Regions from separate parts of the Homo sapiens genome. Here region 1 is linked to region 2. The links are contacts of gene promoters, found by promoter capture Hi-C in human tissues and cell types (Jung and others, 2019). All regions are on one chromosome and are shown on one strand. Each heading gives the region's core, a stretch centred on a gene start or on the middle of the fragment in contact. The rest is flanking DNA. Distances are from core to core; before and after follow the strand shown.

Region 1 (3,644 bases), core at 146-2,645, 140 kb before region 2:
CTGGGCAGGGGACTGGGTGACAGCCTTCAAACCAGGAGGCTGCATTCGTGTCCCCATTCTAATATAAACTAAACTACTGAGCCACTGCAATAAAACACTGCCTCAGTTTTCTCATCAGCAAGACAGGAGACCAGATTTGTAGCACCTATTGCAAACCCAAAATGCTACAATTCTAAAATAGCAGCACTACTGTAGAGTTACCAAAGTTTAAATTTAGAACAAATATTTGTTCTAAACATTTGAGCTCCAAATTACTAATCTGCAAAAAAGGGCAAACAAGACTTGCAACATGGCTTGTTTCTGTGAAAAATGTATAGAAGATGTTCAGAACAATGCCTGGCACAACAGGCACAAAGCAAACTTCCTTTGCCCATCTTCCTCCATCCCAACTACAATGCCATCTATTACTCCTTCCTTCAGATGAGTCTTTCAAAAAACACAGTCCTGACACAATTTCTGTGGCTGGGAGGGAAAGTATCTGGGGGTTCTGCACTGATCTGCAGTCATCCTAAGAGTCTTGGTCTATACTTCCTCCTCTAGTGGCCTCCTCTATGTTAAAACAAAAAACAAGCTTTTGATCTGTAAATGTTCACAATGAGACAATGAGCTACTGAAAGAAATCTCATAGTTTTTAACTATCCCATCAAAGTTAAAATGTGCACCATAAAAAGTAGAAGGGTCTAGACCTAAAACTGGCATTGCACCATTGTGGTACACATGGCAGAAGCTTGCAAAAGGCTTAAAATCAGAAATCGGCACAAAGCAAAGTGACCCTCAGTAAGATATATGGTACCAATGACATAAAAGGGAACAGAGAGGTTCAGCTGCCAACACTAATGGAGAAGTCAGAACATGTTGCTAAGTCTGAGAGAAATGAAATATTGTACAACCAGTTATCAAGCTCTAATAATCACATGATCAAAGGGCCTTTGCCTCTATTCCTATCACAGGTCTTCTGAAAACCATTTGTTCCATTGCAGGAAGAAAGAGAAACAATATAATTTTGCCGTCCAGTAGTGTTTATGTTTGTGTATACATCCCATTCTCCCACCTACCCTCCATATCCCTCCTAAAAATCTTCAACCTGATAGGGAAGATTTCTGGCAAGTTCTCAAAAACTGAATTTCTTCCCAGAAGAAATTAAAAGTAGTTTACTTTCTCCTTCAACTGCCACCACAGAAGCACATATGTAACATATTAAACATCTAAATTTCTCATCTCTTCAGAAAAAATCCAATTCTATGATTAATCACTGCGCAAGTAACTGCAAATTTAAATTTACTCAGAGGACTCCACTTATGTAATAAAAAACAAGTTACATATCTGAATCAATATTATAATTCACTGCTAAATAACTAAGCCAAAACCAACAGGCATGTAATTTTAACTTTCAAAAGTTCAAACGTCCACTAGAAACTCAATGTTCCTATTAGACATGTCAAAAAGCACAGTATTCCGATTATTTTATTCAGTATTTTCAATGAAAAGTTTCACCACATAATTCATGGCTAAATGTGTTATAGAGAATATTTAGAGAGAACAAAAGAAGATTCGGATTTACCTTAAGTCTTTTAACTCAGTCAAGATATGGAAATATAAGATCACTGGATGCCAAAAAAATAAACGAACGAAAAACAAGCTTTTGATCTGTAAATGTTCACAATGAGACAATGAGCTAATGAAAGAAATCTCATTACTTCATCTCTGTTAGAAGTAACAGTAGTAATAATACTGGCTTTTCCAAGAACCACTCTGTCAAGCCTTCACATTTGGCTTAACAATAACATCAAAAGGAAAATTCTCAAATATGACCAAACTCAGCATAAGAACATACTTGAGTGCACGATGAAACTTTACAGATCCTACTTTCCTAACAATACAAAAAACTTTCAAAAAATTAATAAAATACTCTCATGGATAGCTAACATTTAAAACATAACTATATCTGAACTCCGTAACTGGCACCTTACCTAAGGCAAAAAGGGTGGGCAAGATGTGTTTTTTCAGCATCTTCACATTGTCTTCAATGCAGGGATTCACCCACTTTGGTGAACAAATTACAAGAATGTTTCATCAAGCTCTTTCTACCATATTCTTGATAATTTCTATATCTATTCCACCAAATAATGTTTCAGCTCTATAAAAAGCAAGGATCCCTGGATTGCCACCCTGCGTACCCTTCAGACACCTGACTTGGATAACAGATTTCTGTGATTATGCTCAGTGAGAAAACCTGTGTTGATGCTTTTCCACTTATAAAAACATGAACGCTTCTATTTTTCCCAGCACCTATGTTACAGTATAATAAAGTATCTGTAAAGTACCTACCACTCCTGAGAAGAAAATCACTATATAAATACAAGGTATTATTAAGTTCAAGTGAAACCAAAATCAACAAATTACATTATGGACTGACTTAGTTTAATAGTAACGGAGTTCATACTCCAGATTCCATATGCAGACTCTGACTCACCCTAATAAAAAGCAAATTATCATCAAACTTACATAGTTTTATCAAATACTCGGAATATTCCATACACTTCAAATAAAAAAAAGTACTCATATTGTGAACTATCTAGAAAGAGTTCTTCATTCTTACCACAATAAGAAAGTGACCTGTAGCTCTTTCCGTGTCACTGAGACAACAGGAATATTATATTAAACCACAGTTAAGTGGAAAGAACAAAGCAGCATCTCTGCCAGTCCTGTTTTCTAGACCTCGATTCCCCTGACCTATAAAATGTGGTTCTCTCTTACCATTTTCCAGCTATAAAACTGTGGAAGAACTGAAAACAACTTTTAAGTTCTGCAAAAATAAAAACCATTCTTAGTAACCACACCATCAACAGCTCATAAAATGACAGTGTCACTCTAAAGCTATGCGTAGGCCAGGTGCAGTGGTTCATGCCCATAATACCAGCACTTTGGGAAGTCAGAGCAGGAGGACTGCTTAAGGCCCGGAGTTCTAGAGAAGGCTGGGCAACATAGCAAGACTCTGTCTCTACAGAGGATGTTGTGGAGCACGCCTGTAGTCCCAGCTGTTCGGGAGGCTGAGGCAGGAGGATCATTAAGCCCAGGAGTTCGAGGCTGCAGTGAACTATGACCTGGGCGACAGAGTGAGACCCTATCTCTTAATAATAATAATAGCAAATAAAAATAAATGTATGCATAATTTTTGTGAAGGATGTTAGAGAAATGCTGCAAAGAACTTTATTCCATTAATGTAGTTTCGGTCTTTTCAACAACAAGAAAGCACCACTCTTTGATAAATGGTGGGGAAGTAGAAAAGAACTGGCTGCCAACTGGCATGAAGCACGGTCACATCCAAAACATACGAGTGGAGTGACCAACATGAAAAATGGCAGAGTAGAAAGCTCCCAGGGTTAGTCCTTCCACCAAAACCATTAAGCTGAAAAATACATCAGAATCAACTATTCTGAACCTTAGAACCTAATCAGACATTAAACACCCAGGGCAGTAGTTGATGAAGGGAGAAGAGAGCACAGCATGCAAACCAGCTACTATTCCCTACTCCTCAGCATCCCCAGAGGCGGGCACAGGACCACCTCCTAGAGCAGCTGCCTAGTAACAGGGCTGGCAGCGGGAACCTTGCCCTCAACAATTTAGGATTGTGCATTTTGCTC
Region 2 (3,801 bases), core at 725-3,224:
AAAAAAAGAAATGAGAGCAGTAGGGATACAGAGGGAGACACCAAGAAATATAGGAGGAGAAATGATGGAACTTGGCGATTAATCAATGTGGAAGTGAGAGAGTGGGTAGAGTCAAGGATGTCTCCCAGGCTTGGGCCACTGGGTGGATGGAGACACATTCATTAGCATGGTCAATTACAAAAATGGACCCCATTCTCCATCACTCTCTGCTTCCTTGCCCTTTCACACGTGACTTTTCTGCTGTTTCCACAAAGGGGCGGAGTGTATTTCCCTACTCCTTGAATATGGGCTGGCCCCATGACTTGCTTTGGCCAACAGAATGCAGCAGAAGGGATGGGTTCCTTCTCAAGGCCTAGGTCTCAAGAGGCCTTATCCATTTCCACCCACTCTCTTGGAACTCTGCTCAGCTACCATGAAGGCAGGCCCTGGCCAACGTGCTGAATGAGAAGAGACATGTAACTCAGTCACTACCCTCCCTCATCACAGCCAACAGCTGCCAGACATGAGTAAGGCTATCCAAGGGCAGCCAGCCCCCACTTCCAGAACCTGGAAGCTCCCTGCAGATGCATCAAAGGGCTCAACAACTGTAAGTGATTGTTGTTCTAAGCCATCTAGTTTGGTGTGGCTTGTCATGCAGCAAAAACTGGTACAACCAGGGTAGAGAAAGGTATGAATTAGGGTGGGGCTGTCTAATAGGCGATTAGGCAAGTGAGGCTGGAACACAGGAGGTCAGAGGCATGAAGGTCTTCTAACTGTTCAAGGTTAAAGTCCTGAGGCTTCTGCTGTGCTATTTCTGGTGGGCTCCAGAAATCCAAGAACCAGTCTATAGCTCTGTGTCCTGTTCCTCACACTGCCCCCCACCCCACCCTAGACCCCACCATGCACCTAGAAGTAAATATTTGGATACTGAAGCAAATGCATGACTCAAGCACATAGGATAGTATTAATGATGGACACTTAGTGCAGGGCCAGGGCCCCCAGCCAGTGGAGTGCTCATGAGTGTTCAGGAATGAGCCAGTGCAACCCCTGCCTGCAGAGGAGGGGCTGGGCATGGATACTGAGATGCTAACCATCACTGCCCCTAAGGGGACTTCATCTATCCCTAGCAAGGTCACAGTGACTGCAGTTGCCTCCACTGATACTAATTCAGAGCTCTTGCCCCCCGCCCCCCGCCCTTTTCCCATATTAATGTTACCCCTTAGCATCTTTTCTTTTCTTTCTTTTTTTTTTTTTTTTGAGACGGAGTTTCGCTCTTGTGGTCCAGGCTGGAGTGCAGTGGTGCCATCTCGGCTCACTGCAACCTCCGCCTCCCTAGTTCAAGCGATTCTGCTGCCTCAGCCTCCCGAGTAGTTGGGATTACAGGCGCCCACCACCACGCCCCGCTAATTTTTGTATTTTTAGTAGAGACAGCGTTTCGCCATGTTGGCCAGGCTGGTCTTGAACTCCTGACCGCAGATGATCTTGCCCACCTGGGCCTCCCAAAGTGCTGGGATTACAGGCGTAAGCCACCGCGCCCAGCCCCTTAGCACCTTTTAAAAATAAAAAGGGCAGCGTTTTACAGCAATCTGTCCCATTGTTGCAGAAACATCCAACTGATTGCACTTTTTCTTCTTCTCTCGTCAACTCGTAACTCCTATCTCAAGTTCACCCACAGGTCTAGTGACTCCGGCTGGCTGCTGCGGGGCGAGGAGACTCGCAGAATGCCTGACTAGAGGCCACTCGCGCGCTCTGGACGGTGGCCGTATCTCCAGGGTCTGAGCCCCGGAGCCGCAGTCCTGCCGCAGAGCGCCTGGAGCCGCGAGCAGCTAGCAGCCCGGCGAAGCGCACAGCCTCGGCGATAGTCAGCTCCGCGGCCTCTGCTCCCGCCCCTCCCGGCCGCTCCGGGAAGGGGCGGAGACGAGGAGGAGCTGGGACGGCCGCCGCGCTCCCGGGCGCACCAAGCCCTTTAAAAGCCGCGGGCCTTGACAGTTCTGCAGGCAGCCGCCGCGGTCCCGGACCTCTAGTCCCGCACTCCCAGCTGGCGAGCCGGCTCCGGGTGCGGCGAGGCCCAGCCCTCTCGGATTGCGCGCCGGACCCCGGGACGCGCTCCATGCGGCCGCTCAGCATGTCCGGGCACTTTCTGCTCGCACCCATCCCCGAGTCCTCCTCGGACTACCTACTGCCCAAGGACATCAAACTGGCGGTGCTGGGCGCCGGCCGCGTGGGCAAGAGCGGTGAGTGCGGCGGGGACCCCCGGGCGGCTTCGCTCCCCGGCTCCGGCCGCGACCACTGGGGGCGCTGCGGAGAGAGGGCGCCTCGGCCGAAGCAGAGGGCGCGGGTGCAGGTAGAATCGGGCTGCTTTCGCGCTGGGTGGGTCCCGGTCCGTCCCGGCCTGCTTCCCTGGCGTTTCCTGGTGCATCTACTCCTGGGATCTCGGCGGGATTGGCGCCTGTTCGGGGATGGGGTGCGGGAGAGGTGTCCCGCCAGTCGTACTCGCGGCCAAGCCCGCGGCACCACGGCTTTGCGGAGCCTCTGGAAGCGAGCAGTGCCCACGGTTCTGCACCCTTCACTCCCCCCAGTTTGTCCGAGGTGCCTGGGTTTGACAGGCTTGTTCTACTCCTTCGGTTGATTTTCCTATTTCCTTTTCAGCAATGATCGTGCGCTTCCTGACCAAGAGATTCATTGGAGACTATGAACCGAATACAGGTGAGAATACTTTCACGCTCCCTGCTTTTATGCTTGCGTGTTTCTTTTTACGGATGGGAGTTTGAGAATTAAAAAGCAAACTCTACTTCATTCTCCAGGCAAGCTGTATTCACGGCTGGTCTATGTCGAGGGGGACCAGCTCTCCCTGCAGATCCAGGATACTCCCGGGGGCGTCCAGGTAAGAACCGCCAGGGGCAAACAGCTCACCCCCACCCGTGAGACCACCCCAGTGGGCACAGCACGTAGGGCGCCCATGCTGGGCGCAGGGGTCTGAGCAAGGCATCTAAACCGACCTGTGCGTTTAGAGGGAGGAATGGGCTGTCCACAGGTGGGGCCAGTGGTTGGGGTGTTAGAAACTCTCTAAGGGGGAGGCATGGTTAGAAGCAGCCTCCTCTTGTTAAGCACCTGACTTAACTTCACTTTGCAACCCTGGTGGGCCATCACTACTTAAGCAGGTCTCACCATTTCTTCCGGAGGTAGCCATGGAACCATTAACAAAGAAAAAAACGTTTAAAACAAAACAAAACAAAACAAAAAAAGAGGTAGGATTCTGATGGGAGAGACTCTTCTCCCCTGGCAAGCTCTGCTTTTTTTGAGACGGAGTTTCACTCTTGCCCAGGCTGGAGTGCAGTGGCTGGATCTCAGCTCACTGCAACTTCCGCCTCCTAGGTTCCAGCGATTCTCCTCGATTCTCCTGCTTCAGTCTCCCGAGTAGCTGGGACTACAGGCACCCGCCGGAACTCCCAGCTATTTATCTATTTATTTATTTATTAGTAGAGATGGGGTTTCACTATGTTGGCCAGGCTGGTCTCGAACTCCTGACCTCAAGTGATCCGCCCACCTCGGCCTCCCAAAGTGGTGGGATTATAGGCATGAGCCACAGCGCCCGGCCCAAGCACTGCTGAACTGCTGCTGTTAATGGCTGTTCCCTCAAGTCAGTAATTGCAATCAGATAACCCCTTGGCAGAGGGTCTAGAATGTAACTTGTTTATTAACCAGTTACTAATTGCTACTCCGTTCTCCAGAGGAAAGGTCTTGTGGAAGAACCCTAAGAAAGGAATTTCTTTCTGTAACATTCTTAAGAAGTGCATGTTAAAAATGTTTTTATGAGTTTGG

The links. The method cuts DNA at HindIII sites, captures the fragments that hold promoters and counts their contacts. A contact is called where the count stands out against the background at its distance.
Region 1: a fragment that was not itself captured here is called in contact with the fragment with the promoter of RASL11A in region 2 in 3 of the 25 tissues and cell types used here (H1 embryonic stem cells, heart left ventricle and small bowel).

Annotation. Positions count from the first base shown.
Region 1 is chr13:27,126,556-27,130,199 of GRCh38, forward strand. All of the region lies in intron 1 of USP12 (ubiquitin specific peptidase 12), which reads right to left. The region is part of intron 1 of USP12-AS1 (USP12 antisense RNA 1); the gene reads left to right. Among named protein-coding and RNA genes, the nearest start is that of USP12-AS1, 2.8 kb to the left of the region's middle. The HindIII fragment of the contact is 5,304 bases long and covers 1-3,644 here.
Region 2 is chr13:27,268,856-27,272,656 of GRCh38, forward strand. RASL11A (RAS like family 11 member A) reads left to right here and starts at 1,975. Exons shown (of 4, transcript NM_206827.2): 1 at 1,975-2,213; 2 at 2,629-2,685; 3 at 2,784-2,863. The coding sequence starts at 2,090. RefSeq lists an enhancer at 1,437-1,937 and silencers at 1,886-2,105, 2,146-2,375. The HindIII fragment of the contact is 19,308 bases long and covers 1-3,801 here.